Linked DNA regions of Homo sapiens: regions 1 and 2 are each linked to region 3. Evidence: promoter capture Hi-C in human tissues and cell types (Jung and others, 2019). All regions are on one chromosome and are shown on one strand. Each heading gives the region's core, a stretch centred on a gene start or on the middle of the fragment in contact. The rest is flanking DNA. Distances are from core to core; before and after follow the strand shown. Region 1 overlaps TBC1D1 (TBC1 domain family member 1). Region 2 has its middle 30 kb from the start of PGM2. Region 3 holds the start of KLF3 (KLF transcription factor 3).

Region 1 (4,844 bases), core at 1,800-4,299, 670 kb before region 3:
AGCTGTCTCTTATGGGGAAAATCTACTTTCTCTAAAGAATCCTCTTCACTTTCCAGATCTTTTCCTTGAACCAGGAGAGAATTAACTAAGAGTCTGGCACATTTTTTGTTAGGTCTGATAAGATCTCTGAAGCCTGCTACCTGGAGGCCTCATCTGCATGATAAAAACCTTGGTCTTCACCCAGGTTATGACCTTGTCTTAACCTACACACTTATTTCTATTGATTCCAGATCTTTAGATAATAACGCTTTCAACTAATTGCCACTCAGAAAATATTTGAATCCACCTATGACTTGCAACCTCCCCTCCACCTTCAAGTTGTCCCACCTTTCCAGACCAAACCAATGTACACCTTACATATATTGATTGATGTCTTATGTCTCCCTAAAATGTATAAAGCAAGCTATAGCCCCGACCACCTTGAGCACGTGTTCTCAGGACCTCCTGGGGTTGTGTCATGGGTCGTGGTCCTCACATCTGGCTCAGAATAAATCTCTTTAAATGTTTTACGGAGATTGATTCTTTTTGCTGACACTAATATTTAGATTCTTTCTGTTGTTCTAGCACATTCTGCATGAATTAAACATAAACCCTGTTCCCTAGTACAGAACAAGAGCAAACTGCTTTCTTTAGGCCACAAGTAACTTAGATCAGTTAAGGGGAAAATGGGGGAGAGAGGAGGACATTGGCTTCTGCCACCAGCAGCCTGTGTGACCTTGCCCAAGGTCACAACTCTGTGGGGTTAGTTCCCCTTCCCTGAAATAGGTGTAGGGAGGGACTCCTTGACAGTTTCTGGTTTTTTTCGTCTCTCAGAGTGCAATGAAGAATTTCTTCATGGCTAAGGCTGTTAGACTCCAGAAAATAGTTTGCCAACCAAAGACACAGAGTTTCCAATTTTGGAATACTTTAAAAATAGGAAGGAAGTTTATTTGTTTAGCAGAATTTATAATTGTAGGACTGCCCAAGGCAGAGAATTAGCCAAGTGGTATTTTGCGGAAGTTCTTTTTAAAGGGTGGGCCCAAAGGAAACCAGTCATTAGGTGGAAATAAACTGTCAGATTTTTGAGACGTTATTTGCTTAGGGACATTTACACTGGTCTATTGTGACAGTCTCTATTGTGTTAGGCTTTTAAAAGAAATATGTAAGTTTCCAAGTTTAAAATGTTAGAGCAAGTGTCCAGTCCACGGCCTGTGGGCTACATACAGGCCAGGATGGTTTTGAATGTGGCCCAAAAAAGATTCATCAACTTTCTTAAAACATTGAGTTTTTTTTTTTTAAGCTAATCAACTATCATTAGTGTTAATGTATTTTATGTGTGGGCCAAGACAATTCTTCCAGTGTGGCCCAGGGAAGCCAAAAGATTGGATACCCCTGTATTAGAACTTGTAAAATTTGACTTCAGAAACACAACCAAAAGCCCGCTTATGAGTAAGGAGTTTGTGGCCCCTTGTGTACTGATTATTAATCAATTAATTGTATAATAAGCATGAAATATTGCTAGTACATCTAAGGCCAAAGCCTTCTTACGGTTCCAGAAAAAGCTGTATTCCTGAATTTCCAGGTGAAGGGAAGGGATTCTCCTTCCATTTCCAGAAATATGTGAATATAATACATAGGGATTTTTATCACACTAGTGTTTCAGTAAAAGCAGCCCTTCAAGTCTGTGCCATCCAGTTTTGGTGTAACTGAAAGAACATCGTACCAAAGTTTGATTTTTGTCAATTCTCTAGTGTGTTAATCAGCTGAGAATGTGGTCTCTGGATATTTTTCCCCAAGGAAAGAGCTGGATGTACTAGACCACCAGACCACACAACTCTGTATTTGTTTTGCAATAACTACACTATTTGGGGGAGTAGTGTGGTGTTTCCAGACGTTCTTGGTCAAGAAATCTGGCCGCTTCAAGCTCAGTGTTGATCACAATCTATTTCTTTTGCCTCTACTCTGTGGCAGGCACTTGAGACACAACTGCCAAGATGAGAGAGACCCAGCTGCTGACCTGGGGCGGGGGTGGGTGGGGGGAAGGTGGTGAAGGCAGTCACAGAGTCAGCCTGCCAGAAAGCAGGTGGGGAACTGTAAACCTCTGAGTAGCCCCTTGGTATACAGAGGTAATAATTTCCCAAATGTAGTAAATCCCACTTTACAACCTCACGGTTAATTTTGATCAGGGATAAGTAGAACTGACTATACACTGTTAACTTAGATATTGTCCTTCTCAAAAACATCATTTTTATTCTGGGTGCCAGAGATTTGGCTTGGGTGTGGGTGTTAAGAACAGTCCACAGTGTCCTGGAGTACCTCTCCGCTGATCTGGGGGCTCTTTAAACCTCTCTAACAAGTTTTTGTGCTAATCCTGACTGAGTAGATGGAGGCAGTGGAGCCCAGCTGGCCTGTCACTATGGGGCAGAGGGTGACTCTACCCTCAAGCCCTGCATGAAGACCCCAGGGTGGGCACCACAGCCCTTTACAGTCACTTAGCACCTGCTGCTGAACACGAGCATGCAGACCTGGTAAGGCTTGTGAGTTTCAGAGAATTCCTGCAAGTCCCTGGAAATGTGGGCACTGGCAGCTCTTCTCTCTCTTTTTTTTTTTTAAATTTAGTGGGCTTAGAGGTTTTAGCCTAATAAGGAAATTTTACACTGGACGATTTTATCCCAAATAAAAGCAAATCATAGGGACCCAGTGTTGCCTAAAAAACCAGTCCTTACTGGGGAGGTCTAGTTGTGTCTAGCCTGGCTCTGTGACCAGATGCCAGCCATTCCAGCCTCCTGTGGCTGCATTTCATCCCGAAAGTGAATAAGGTGAGTGAGTGATTCAAAGGTCCCATCCAGGGGGTGACAAAGAATATTCCAGGTGGAAGAAACTGCATGAGCAAAGGTATGGAGGTGGAAACCCAAATGAACAGAGGCTTAGGAGGTGTGTTCGAAACATGTTTGGTACAAACGGAACTTACAGAGAAAGAAGCCAGGTGAAATAAGGCAGGAAGAGTTGAGTGGAGCCCCATTGGTGGGAGACCCTGAGGGTTAGCAGGACTGTGTTTGTTCTGGTAGGGATTGCAGAGGAGCCCTAGAAGGTTTGTGAGCAGGAGGCTGACCCCATCAGACCTGTGTTTCCAGAAGATCAGGCTGTGCTGGATAGCAGGATGGATGTAGGGAGATGCCAGAGGCGGCAGAGGAGAGGTCTTGCTGGGGTCTGGCTGAAGCAAGTGTAGGCCCGGACCAGCGCTTGAGGTTTTGGGCTCGTGGTGAGAGAATATACACCCAAAGAGCTGAGGGAAAGAAGGAGTAAGGAGAAAGAAGAGCAGAAGCCACTTACCAGGTTTTGAGCCCAGTTACCTAGAAGGCATTTGGGAAACAAGGAAGTAGGAAGAAAGGCCTATTTTAAGGAAAAGAGAATGAGCTTGATGTGGATATTTTAAGGTCAAGGACTAGAAGTCTGGTGTTTTTTTTTTTTTTTTTTTGAGACGGAGTCTCGCTCTATCACCCAGGCTGGAGTGCAGTGGCGCGATCTTGGCTCACTGCAAGCTCCGCCTCCCGGGTTCACGCCATTCTCCTGCCTCAGCCTCCCGAGTAGCTGGGACTACAGGTGCCTGTCACCACGCCCGGCTAGTTTTTTGTATTTTTAGTAGAGATGGGGTTTCACCGTGTTAGCCAGATGGTCTTGATCTCCTGACCTCGTGATCTGCCCGCCTCGGCCTCCCAAAGTGCTGGGATTACAGGTGTGAGCCACCATGCCTGGCCGATTCTTTTTTTTTTTTTTTTCTTTTTTTGGAGACAGAGTCTCACTCTGTCCCCTAGGCTGGAGTGCAGTGGCGCGATCTCAGCTCACTGCAACCTCCGCCTCCTGGGTTCAAGTGATTCTCCTGCCTTGGCCTCCCGAGTAGCCAGGATTACAGGCGTGTGTCATCATGCCCAGCTAATTTTGTATTTTTAGTAGAGATGGGGTTTCACCATGTTAGCCAGGACGGTCTCGAACTCCTGACCTCAGGTGATCCGCCTGCCTCAGCCTCCCAAAATGTTGGGATTACAGGCGTGAGCCACCGCGCCCGGCCTGGTGATTCTTTAAATAGGTGATTGGAAATGTTAGCGAAGTTTAGGAAAGAATTCAGAGCTGGAAATGTAGAGAAAGAAACCATCTTTCTTAGTTTTTGGGGAGTAGATGCCATCCTGAGAGAGAGGGAGAGACAGAGAGAGAGAATCAGAACACTATGAAGAATCTTTTTTAAGATGTCTGTGAAATGAAAGATTTTACTAAATACATTCTAAAGGAGAGAATTACATTAGTAAGATTTCATTACCCTGCGCCTCCCCTTAAGGCTGATCTTTATTTTTTTCCTCTTGTAACTAAATCAAGATGAAGCCTTGCTTTTGAAAATGTCATTAGGATTCAGAGACTACAATTCCCACTTGGTAGATGGAGTTCTTGTTCCTGCATTGTGGTGAGTGGATCAAAGTTCAGTTCCAGCAAGTCACTGAAGCCCCTCAACATACAGTAGCACTCCCTTGGCATGGGGCAAACAACAAAGCTTTATTTATTTATTTATTTTTGAGATGCAGTCTCGCTCTGTTGCCCAGGCTGGAATGCAGTGGCGCAATCTCAACTCACTGCAACCTCCGCCTCCCGGGTTCAAGCAATTCTCCTGCCTCAGCCTCCCAAGTAGCTGGGATTACAGGCGCCCGCCACCGTACCCAGCTAATTTTTGTATTTTTAGTAGAGACGGGGTTTCACCATGTTGGCCAGGCTGGTCTCGAACTCCGGACCTCAAGTGATCCACCCACCTTGACCTCCCAAAGTGCTGGCATTAAGGGCGTGAGCCACCGCGCCCGGCCACAACAAAGCTTTGAGCA
Region 2 (4,973 bases), core at 2,461-4,960, 870 kb before region 3:
TAAACTATAAACTAAATTTCTCTCTAAGTTAGCTTGGCCCACTCCCAGGAGCAAATACAGTCAACCTATGAAGCTAGAAGCAAGATTAGAGTCAGCTATGTCAGATTTCTCTTACTTTCATAATTTTGCAAAGGTGGCTTCAACAGTGCCTGTAATTACTTTCATTGTAAAGTAACATATTTTTATAACCCAATGACAGTAACTAGATGTTTGATATCATCTGTCTATATTCTCTTACCTACCTTCTTTTATATCACATTATTTTAGTCTGAAAGCAAAATAATCCCTTAACATCCTTTCTAAAGTAAAATGATTTATCCAGTTTTGTTTTTTTTTCTCTATCCCAATCTTAGCATTTCACCTAGGAAAGACTACAGACGTGTTAATCCATGCACATGATTGTTGGGACCATAACAGTTAGATGGCCATCATTGTGTTGCTGCAATTAACCTCTTTCCTCCAGGCTTACATGCTTACCACTTCTATGCTTCACAGAGAAATCATGTTCTCTGGGTACCTATACTCATCATTTCCTCCACTGATCCTTGTTATTTCCAATTCAACCAGTCTCATCTATGCTTCCCTTTTTGGAGCTCTGTTGCTTCTTAAAAGGAAGTTTTTATTGAATTTGTCTTCAATCAGCTCTCTCCCTTCAGAATTCTGTGTATCTGCTCTCTTCCACTTAGTGGAAGTGGTACTTGGTCAAATACATGTCGGTGATGGCGCTCACATTTTGGTTCATACAGCTATTAAACATGTATTTTCTCTCCAACTAGAGAAGCTCCTTTTGGGCAGGGACAATGTCTCACTTTTCATGACATCCTGAAGCACCAGGTATAGGACTCAAACAAAAAGGCATCCATTGACTATTGAATTCATGAGTAAAATGTAGATAATAAGTTTATATATTTGAGATGACATGAGCATATGACTTTATGTCCTCAGAGTCCTAATTTGGCCACCATGAATTGAAGGAAAAGCATCTCATTTCCATGACAAAATCTTTCCTACAATAAAAATTGTAAGTAAGCTTGGATACATTTCACATGACTAACTCATGACCAAAAAGAAACTTGATCTGTGACCTTCAGTAACACACTCGATTTAGAAAATGTGAATGGGCTTAATGATTAGTGACGGTTGCTAAAAATTAAGGCTTTAAAAAATCTTATTTATGTGAATACTAAAGCTGCACACACCTGGAGGTATTAGTTGATGTCCTTGTTGACCTAAAAGGAGGAGGCTGAGGCACAAAATATAATTTAAAGAATTTACTTGAGCCAAAGGGAAGACAGCTGTTGAGACGCTCTTCCCAGTTGCACTGGGGAGTGCTCTGTTAGCTTTTGTTGTAAGCAGGTTTCTAAAGGCAAAGGGAACAAGGAATGGTCTGATGTAAAGTTCTTTGACAGGAATTCTCACTGGTTTTCAGAGAATAACATTGCTTAATGATTGGCCATGCACTGTGGGACTGCAGGATATAGTGTTATAGTGTCTGGCATATGGCATTTGATGGCTACTTGGCATCAGTTAGTCTAGAGCCCACATGGCAAGTGGCTTCAAGAGATAATTATTTAGTTCAAGGGGGAGTGATGTGACTGCTGTTTCATTCAGTGCCTTTTGGGGCCTGATAATTTAAAGGGGCTCTCATTCTTCAGATAAAAATTTTCTTTCCTTCCTTTTTCCTCCACACCATTTTGAACAAACTTTCTGTTTTCTTAGTTATCACTTTCCTCCTAATAGTCTTTAGAGCAAACAGAGCAAGTAAGCCAACCAGAAAAGCCACAGAAAACACACTTTCCATATACCTACCGTCTATTTTCCTCTTAGACGCATACTTGATCCTACGACAAAAGACTTGTCTCCAAATAAATCGATTTAAAATATGTGAAACATTATATCTTTTAAAAAGTGACGTTTCATAATAAAACTATGTCTACTATGCATTTGCTTTGAGTTTTTATAACTTTCCAAAAAAGTTTTCCTCTTGCCGGTAAATACGTATCCTATTTCTACAGCTCTGGGATGGTATCTATTTATTATACATTATTTATCTCTAAAATGTTTTACTAAGCCAAAAAGGAGAAGAACACATCATACGGAACAGTACCCTGTGTAAGGAGGGAAGTGTCAGAGACTCCATAGTGTACTCCCAGTGTGACCAGTGAGAGCTACTGCCCTGCCCTGAGTTGAGATGTTCTGAAATAGCTATTGCATTTCTATGTGCCCTCTTTTTCTGCCATTATTAGCAAACAGTTTTCATCCATTGGCTGACAAAACTGGAGTAATGGATAGTGCTGGACCAGCAGTAAAGAAACAAGGAATATCAGCCTGAATGTGGGAATGCAAGTTTTAGTGCAATTCAACAGCTATCAAGGAAAAGGTCAAGGAGGTCTAGGATAAGGGGCGGCAGGCAAGCGGGCATCAGTGGAGGCCCTTTGACTTTTTGAAGAGCTTCAGAAACAACACTATAGCCTGGAAAGGCTGATCTACACTGGAAGACATGGTAGCTCCTGGCAAGGAATGACCCCAGCCGAGAAGAGCAACTGCTAATGCGTGATGAAGGATGGATGAGGCCTGGGATGCAATGGGCTCATAAAGCACTGACTACCTGGAGTCCGTGAGAGCTCTCATTTCCAGTAGGAAGTTTCACTGTCTCCAGGGCAAATGAAGGATATGTGGACATTATACATTTTTTAAAAAATTTAAGTGCAAGCATTTTTGTTCTCCCCATTTATTTGTTCATTCATTCGTTTATTCAACTAACATCCATTATGTGTTCTTTGCTGCACGCTGAAGATACAAAAAGCATTAAGAAAGGAACTCTGTTTGTAAGAATCTCACAGTTCCTTAGGAGCTGGGTGTGGGATGTTCTTTGCCCCTCTAGATCTATTCTCTGCCCTTCGCCACCTTGCCCAGTGGCTCCTGGAAGCTGACTTTTCTGGAAAGTATCAACAGGGCTCCCTTGCCTTCCAGCTTCAGTTGGGCTCAGCCACTAGGAAGCACAAGAGGAGAGGAAGGGTAGCAGGAGAGGAAGGGCGGCAGAAGAGGAAAGTGAAGCATTGCCCTGGCTTCCTTCATGCCTGCTAAGGCTTAACAATGGCTGCACTTCCCTAAAGCCACAACTGCTGAGAAGCAGCCTGCTTCCAGAACTACAACCAGCTCTTCTGTTCCTGGCTTTTCCAGGCCCAGGGCTGACAGTGGCCCCCCACAGTGTAGCCTGGAAGTGCTTTATCACTCTTGGTTCTCCTTGACCTCTACATGGCCCCTCCATTAAGCTTTCTTTCATTTATTTCCTGTATGATGACATAACAAGGTTAGCTGGGCAATAAGCAAATATCCTATAGTGTCAAGTGTACAATGAGGGCAAGAAAGGATTAATCAGTCCTAACTGGGGGGGGGGGGGTCAGGTGAGGCTGTGGTCTATAAAGTCCTGTCCCTATTCACCCTTTCAATTGCATGCTGAAGTTTCTCTAAGAACATGAAATCAATCACGTTATCTTCCAGCAATGGCAGTGGAAAAATCTGATGACAACCCCAGGAAGAAAGTTCAATGGCCATGTGATTGACTATATAATGATGTTCCATTTATCTAAAAATAGTACTTTGCTTAACTTACACTAACGCACCTTACAGTTATGAGACACTACCTACTTAAAATAGCATACAGTGAAAGTAGACCTAATCTACCTCCTAGTTGAGTAGTAACAAAAATGTCTAACAGTTACTGAGTTCTCAACTAAACCTATAGTATTAATATGATAATTATGTATGGAATTATGCATATAGATATTATGTATAGAAGTGTGTCTACTAATTTCTTACAATGCCACCACAGAATAATAGTATTATTCCCATTTTATAGCAGAAGAAACTGAGGCTTAGAGAGAATTTAGTGACTTGCTCAAAGTCATAAAGCTAGTAAGTGGCAGAGCTGGGATTGTAATCCCATCTATCTCCATTATTAACCACTATGCTCCCTAATAAAAAAAAATTCTCATATCATGTGTTAGCTAAGGTAACATAGGATGCATTAACAGATAAACCCCCAAATGTCAGCGATTTACCATAACATTTATCTCTCACTCATATCAAGTCCAGTTGGTAGTGGTTCATGTGGGAAGAGTCCACTCTAGCTCAACAGTTCAAGACCCAGGTAGACAGAGGCTCTGACCTCTTCAACATGTACCTCCCATGTTGTCCTGAGTGCTAAAGTCCAGCCAGCAGAAAGAAGAGAGAGAGAAAGAAGATTTTTATGATTCAGGGGTGGAAATTCCAGACATAAATTCTACCCTTATTCCATTAGACAGGAATCCATTGTATGATTGGGAAATCAAGTCTAGCTGAGTGTCTAAAAGGAAAGAGAAAGGATTTGATAGACAGCAAGACTCACACTGCTTCCAATTATAACTCCCCAATTGTTCTCAGGTGACAGGAGGCTCTGTCTCAACCTGATGACCAGAGAATGAGATGAAGATCAAGTGGATTCCACAATATTTAGTTTTTGCTGTCAATATCATGTCAGTCAGGAGAACAGATAACACTCTAGGTCTTTCAAACAATGAAAATTTAATAAAAGGAATTTATACAAGGACTGAGAAGCCAAATAGGGAACTGCAAGACTACCCAGAGATTAGAGATACAGGAGGCCAGCACCATCCCCAGGAATTGAAGGTCACTAGGATGAAGTGGTGTCATCAGAGTCCCAAAGCTGGGGCTTTTCTAGTGGGAGATGCCCAGAAGGAGGGACGGGCTATTGGGCAGGGGGTGAAGCCACAAAGGAGACCCAACTACCAAAGAGGGAGGGAGAGAGAGAAAGAGGGACTCTCTTCCTCATTGCCCCAAGTCTTCCTTTAGAGCCTCATTTTGGCTTGTAAATTAAAAACAAAATTCTAAGTACCCCAACCAACTGAATGTACCCCTCTTGGCCAAGGAAACTCCAGAGAAACTGGTTTCCCAGCCATGATGAAACAGAC
Region 3 (4,646 bases), core at 1,492-3,991:
GACTTCATCCTATGGGAAGCCATTGAAGGGACTGACACGATCAGGCTTGCATTTTGGAAAGGGCACTCTTACTCCCGTGCTCCAATGCCTTTTTCATGCTTCAGCCCATACTACAAACAGGATGACAGGATGACCAACAAGACATGGTGGCAACAGGCTGGGCCAGCATAGTGGCCAGAGAGTGGGTAGTGACCAAGGAGGTCCAGGACTCAGTGAAACATGGGCTATGCCCTGCTAGCGAGAAGAAAGGCTTAGGTGCTTCTGTTGGGGTTTTGTTTTTTTTTTGTTTTGTTTTGGTTTTTTTTTTTTTTTTGACAGAGTCTCACTCTGTTCAGTGGTGACATGATCTCAGCTCACTACAACCTCCACCTCTTGAATTCAAGCAATCACCCTGTCTCAGCCTCCCTACATAGCTAGGATTACAGGCGTGCGCCGCCATGCCTAATTTTTGTAATTTCCGTAGAGACGATGTTTCGCCAACTTGGCCAGACTGGTCTCGAACTCCTGGCCTCAAGTGATCCACCCAACTCGGCCTCCCAAAGTGCTGGGATTACAGGCGTGAGCGACCGCGCCCCACCCTGTTGGGCACTTTGAAGAATGATGGTGTCCTTCACTGAGCTACCCAGCACTAGATAGATTCATTTCCGACAAGTTGCATTTGAGCAGCTTCCCACAGGGCACCGAACACAGTGTTCACTAATTAACTGTTTAAAATGGCTTTTCTTCTCCTTTGCCGCCTGCCCCTTCCATATCAAAACCACTCCCTTCTTATCTTGGGTCACACTTTTCTCCGACAGGCCTATTTCGCTCTTCCCCTTTGCGTCCACACCCACATGAACAAGGTAAAAAACATGGTTTATGTGCTTCAAGTTCTCGTCACTGTGTCCCTGGAGAAAAAAACGTACTTTTTTGAGCACCTACTATGAGCCAGTTTCACCAGCCATTCCTAGCACGGTGTTCCGCTAATGCAAACCTTAAGGCAGCCAATCAGCCATTTAATGATGTCAGTGATCAATAAATGGCAATTAGTAATTGACACGAATCCAACTCTTTTTTTTTCTGGAATGTCTTTTATTCATTATGAAGAAAAAAAAAACTCACACCCTTTACATTTTAAAGATGAAGCTTATGGGACAGCACGACGTCCCATGAGCCGGCGTCGGTTCTGGGTATCCTCCACGTGGCCTTTCCTGGACTTGCGTTATTTAAAATATGCGATTTCACTACTTGAGGTTACCGAGTACTAATTTTACAATACTGTGTAGCTACATGAAGCGGCTCGAAATATACTATTATCACTCCGTTTTAAGCAGCACGATGTCTGGATGAAGCATCAAAGCGAGATGGGTCAACTTAAAGGGCCTTTAAAACATCTTGAAGCAATAATAAGCCATACACTGAAGCAGGGGCGGTTTTAAACATTACACAGAACTTAAAACAATCGAACGAATTCGTCCTTTGTTCTTTTTATTACATTAATTATTACATTAATACTGTTTAAAAAGAAACTCAAAAGGCATTAAACTTAGGTACCAATCTACACAAAGTCCTCGAAGGGGCCTGGCTTGGACCGAACGCGCTTTTGTGCCGCCCCGCTCGCTCGCAGCACCCTGAAGGCCACTGAGCTTAGGGCGCTAGGTCCCTAGAAGCGACTTGAAATGAGGGGGTCGCCAGGCCAGGCCCTCGCTCTGCAGGGGAGGATCCGACCAAAGTTTGCCAAGTTTCCAGGCAAGCCCAACTGCGCAAATGCCGCTTTTTAGCTCCAGCGGCAGGCCTGGCCCGTGGGAGTTTTGCCCCAGGGGTCTCCGGGCCTTCAAAGAAAAGTCCCACGAGGTGGGGGGCGCCGCCTGGGCCGCCGGCCAGGGGGACCCGTCGCCCCAGGGCACAAAGAAAGAGCGCGCCTACAGGGTGTCCCCTGACCCCGGCGACTCGGGGCCAGGGAGGCTCGGCGCGCCCCAGCGGCCGCTCTTCCCCTCCCGAACCCGCCCGGCCCACTCGCTCCTGCACCGCGGCCGCCTCGGCTCGGCTTTTCTCTTGCAGTGAGCTGAGTGCGCTCAGCCGAGGAGGGGCCGCGCCGCGCCGCGCCGGCCGCGGGGCCCAGCCCTTCCCGCCGCGCCCGGGGCCGCCCTTCCCGCTGGAGCCGGCTGATCGATGGCCCTGGCAGCCCGCGCCCCCCGCCTCGGCTCGCCCGCGAGCCCGGCTGTGTGTTTTGGAAGCAGCGCAGCGGGCCGCAGCCGTGTGACGCCCGGAGCGGGCAGCGCCGCCCTTCCTTCCCCCCGGGCTCGGGCGGCGGCGCGGCGGCTGGGCCGGGCGGGAGGGCTGGCGGGGCGCGGACTCCGGGGAGGAGGGCGCGGGGAGGGGACGCGGGCGGGGACGCGGGCGGGGGGCGGAGGCCGCGCCGCGCACGCCCAGCCCCACGGCCGCGCCGCGCCTCGTGGGACAGGTTGGGCCGGCGGGGCGGCGCCCGGCTCCGGGGAATAATGAGTGTCTGTCAGGCCGTCCCCGGGTGACTGGGCGGGGCGGGGCGGAGGCGGCGCGGGAGGCGGGGGTGGCGGGGGAAGGGCGCAGGGCGGGGTGCGTGTTTGCGCGAGTGACTCGGCCGACCCCTCCGGCGGCTGCCTCCACCCAAGTGGGTGGGGACCCGCCCAGCCCGGGCGGCCGCGGCGGCTCCCTCTCCCCTCCCTGACCCTCCCACCCCGGGTCCCAGCCTCTACTTACCCCGCCAGCCCCGGGAGGCTCGCAGAGCGAGCGGCGCCGGCGTCATGTGACTGCCCGGAGTTGGTGCCAGGAGCCAGAGGGGAGCCAGGAGCGGAGCCGCGCGGAGCCGGGGCCCGAGCCGGAGCGCAGCGAGAGCGCCCGCCGCACGCGCGCCCGTCCCCGTCCCCTGCGGCCGCCAACGCCGCCCGGACTGGAGCCCTGACATTGCTGCGCTCGGGGGGCTCCAGGCAGCCCGTATCGGGGCCTTTATTTCTCGTCGGCGGCGCCCTGCACCGCGCCTCGCAAAGTAAGTCCCGTCTCCCTCACCTCTGCTCCGCACCCTGGTCCCTGCCGCCCCCCTCCTCGGCCAGTCTGGTTTCATTTTTTCTCCTGGAGGGGGCCGCGGGGAATGGGTCGGGGGTGCAGCGCTGGTGTTGGGGGGGGCGCCTGCGGGCTTGGGAAAGTGTGGCGGCTACACTTAGCCGGGGTGGGGGCGGAGAGCAAGCAAGGAGGAGGGGGTCACGGGTTCGCGGTGAAAAGTGAGGGGTTGAGGCGAGGCACCGTGCGGACCCCGGGTGCGGGGGAGCGGGGCTGGCAGCGCCCGCCGCCGTCCCGGGCAGGGCGCGGGCGGGGGCTCACCTGTGTGGTCCCCGGCCTCCTCCCGCCCGCTCACGATTCCCTCCAAAGCCCCAGAAATCTCCGTGCTCTCCGCGTGTGGCAACGTTGTTTGGAGAAAGGTAGCGCCGCGGCCGCGCGCTCCTGCTCCTCCCCCTCCCGGTGCCCCCCCACCACCACCACAACCCAGGCTCCCGCGTCCTTCCCCTCCCCTCCCTCCGCCCGCGCCCCCCGCCGCCCCCCTCCCAGGACACGGCGCGCGGCCGCTCGCCCGCCACAGCAAACTTGGAGCAGTCTCCCGGCCCTCTGGAAAGAAACTTAGGGCAATTGGGATTGGAGGCAGCATCCCATTCTCGGTTCTGGAGCCCAGGAGCTGCCAGGGCGTCTGGATCCTCCGGGGCAGGAGAAATGAGCTGGTCGGGTTTGGAGAGTCTTCCTGGGGGCATGGAGAGAACCTGCCGCAGTGCCTGGAGCAAGGATTGCAGCGTGGCTGAAGGCGGAAGACGCCTTAGGCAACTGCCTGCAGCCGAGCCTGATGGGGACCCAGGGACAGATCCCTGGATCAGGACCCATGGGACCTACCTAACATTTCCAAGTGGCTTTCTTAGAGATGGCAGATGAGATCTGGAATTGTCATATTCATTTTTTTGGGCAGATAGCTACTGACAAGGAGAAGCACTTTTCTGGTTTAAATTTTATAGCAGTATACAATAATACTAGAAGAATGTGAATGAGACTTATTTTTAATAAGTCAAGTTAAACGGAAATTGGAAATTGCTCACCTTCTTGTATTTCACTAAAATAAACATTTTACACTTAACCACTGAATTTCTTACTCAGAATTTATGTTTCCATTAATATCACCCAAGACATTTTAAATATATTGATTATATTCTCACAAGAGTCTGGTATATGGGAAAAAGTATGAAGTGGTATTCTGACAAGTACCTGAAATGTGCCAGCAAAATCAAGTGGGGAATAGGCCAGTTGTTCATTATAGGTTTTTCCACACAGCAGTTTTGTGCTATCCTTTTCTGTACGAATTTGAGGAGCATTTTTATAAGAGAAATTCATCTGGATGATCTGCCTCACCCTAGGGAAGAAGACTTGCTTTTAGGGGAAAAAACAATCTGCTAGCATTAATATCTACAAATTTTTTGGAGTTAGTAATAGTGTTTAAGGAAAGTGTCCACGAGTGATTTCTTCTGGTTTGAAAAGAGGTATGTTAGTTGACCTTAGGCTGTTAATAGAAACCTGAAATTAGATGTTCGATTAAATTAAACTCCCTAGAGAAACTGGTATCTTCATTTCTGCAGTCAGTGGGCTTTGCTGCA

Evidence for each region. Contacts are between HindIII fragments. The study calls those that stand out against the background at their distance.
Region 1: a contact is called between a fragment that was not itself captured here and the fragment with the promoter of KLF3 in region 3, in 1 of the 25 tissues and cell types used here (spleen).
Region 2: a fragment that was not itself captured here is called in contact with the fragment with the promoter of KLF3 in region 3 in 1 of the 25 tissues and cell types used here (lymphoblastoid cells).

What each region holds. Positions count from the first base shown.
Region 1 is chr4:37,989,056-37,993,899 of GRCh38, forward strand. All of the region lies in intron 2 of TBC1D1 (TBC1 domain family member 1), which reads left to right. Among named protein-coding and RNA genes, the nearest start is that of PTTG2, 31 kb to the left of the region's middle. RefSeq lists an enhancer at 3,966-4,135. The HindIII fragment of the contact is 3,258 bases long and covers 1,421-4,678 here.
Region 2 is chr4:37,794,494-37,799,466 of GRCh38, forward strand. No RefSeq gene overlaps it. Among named protein-coding and RNA genes, the nearest start is that of PGM2, 30 kb to the right of the region's middle. The HindIII fragment of the contact is 3,117 bases long and covers 2,153-4,973 here.
Region 3 is chr4:38,661,458-38,666,103 of GRCh38, forward strand. It overlaps KLF3 (KLF transcription factor 3), which reads left to right and starts at 2,742. Exons shown (of 6, transcript NM_016531.6): 1 at 2,742-3,004. It overlaps KLF3-AS1 (KLF3 antisense RNA 1), which reads right to left and starts at 3,436. Exons shown (of 16, transcript NR_171644.1): 1 at 3,337-3,436. RefSeq lists an enhancer at 610-931, silencers at 1,643-2,162, 2,193-2,462, 2,473-3,072, 3,133-3,482 and a promoter at 2,202-3,004. The HindIII fragment of the contact is 5,536 bases long and covers 561-4,646 here.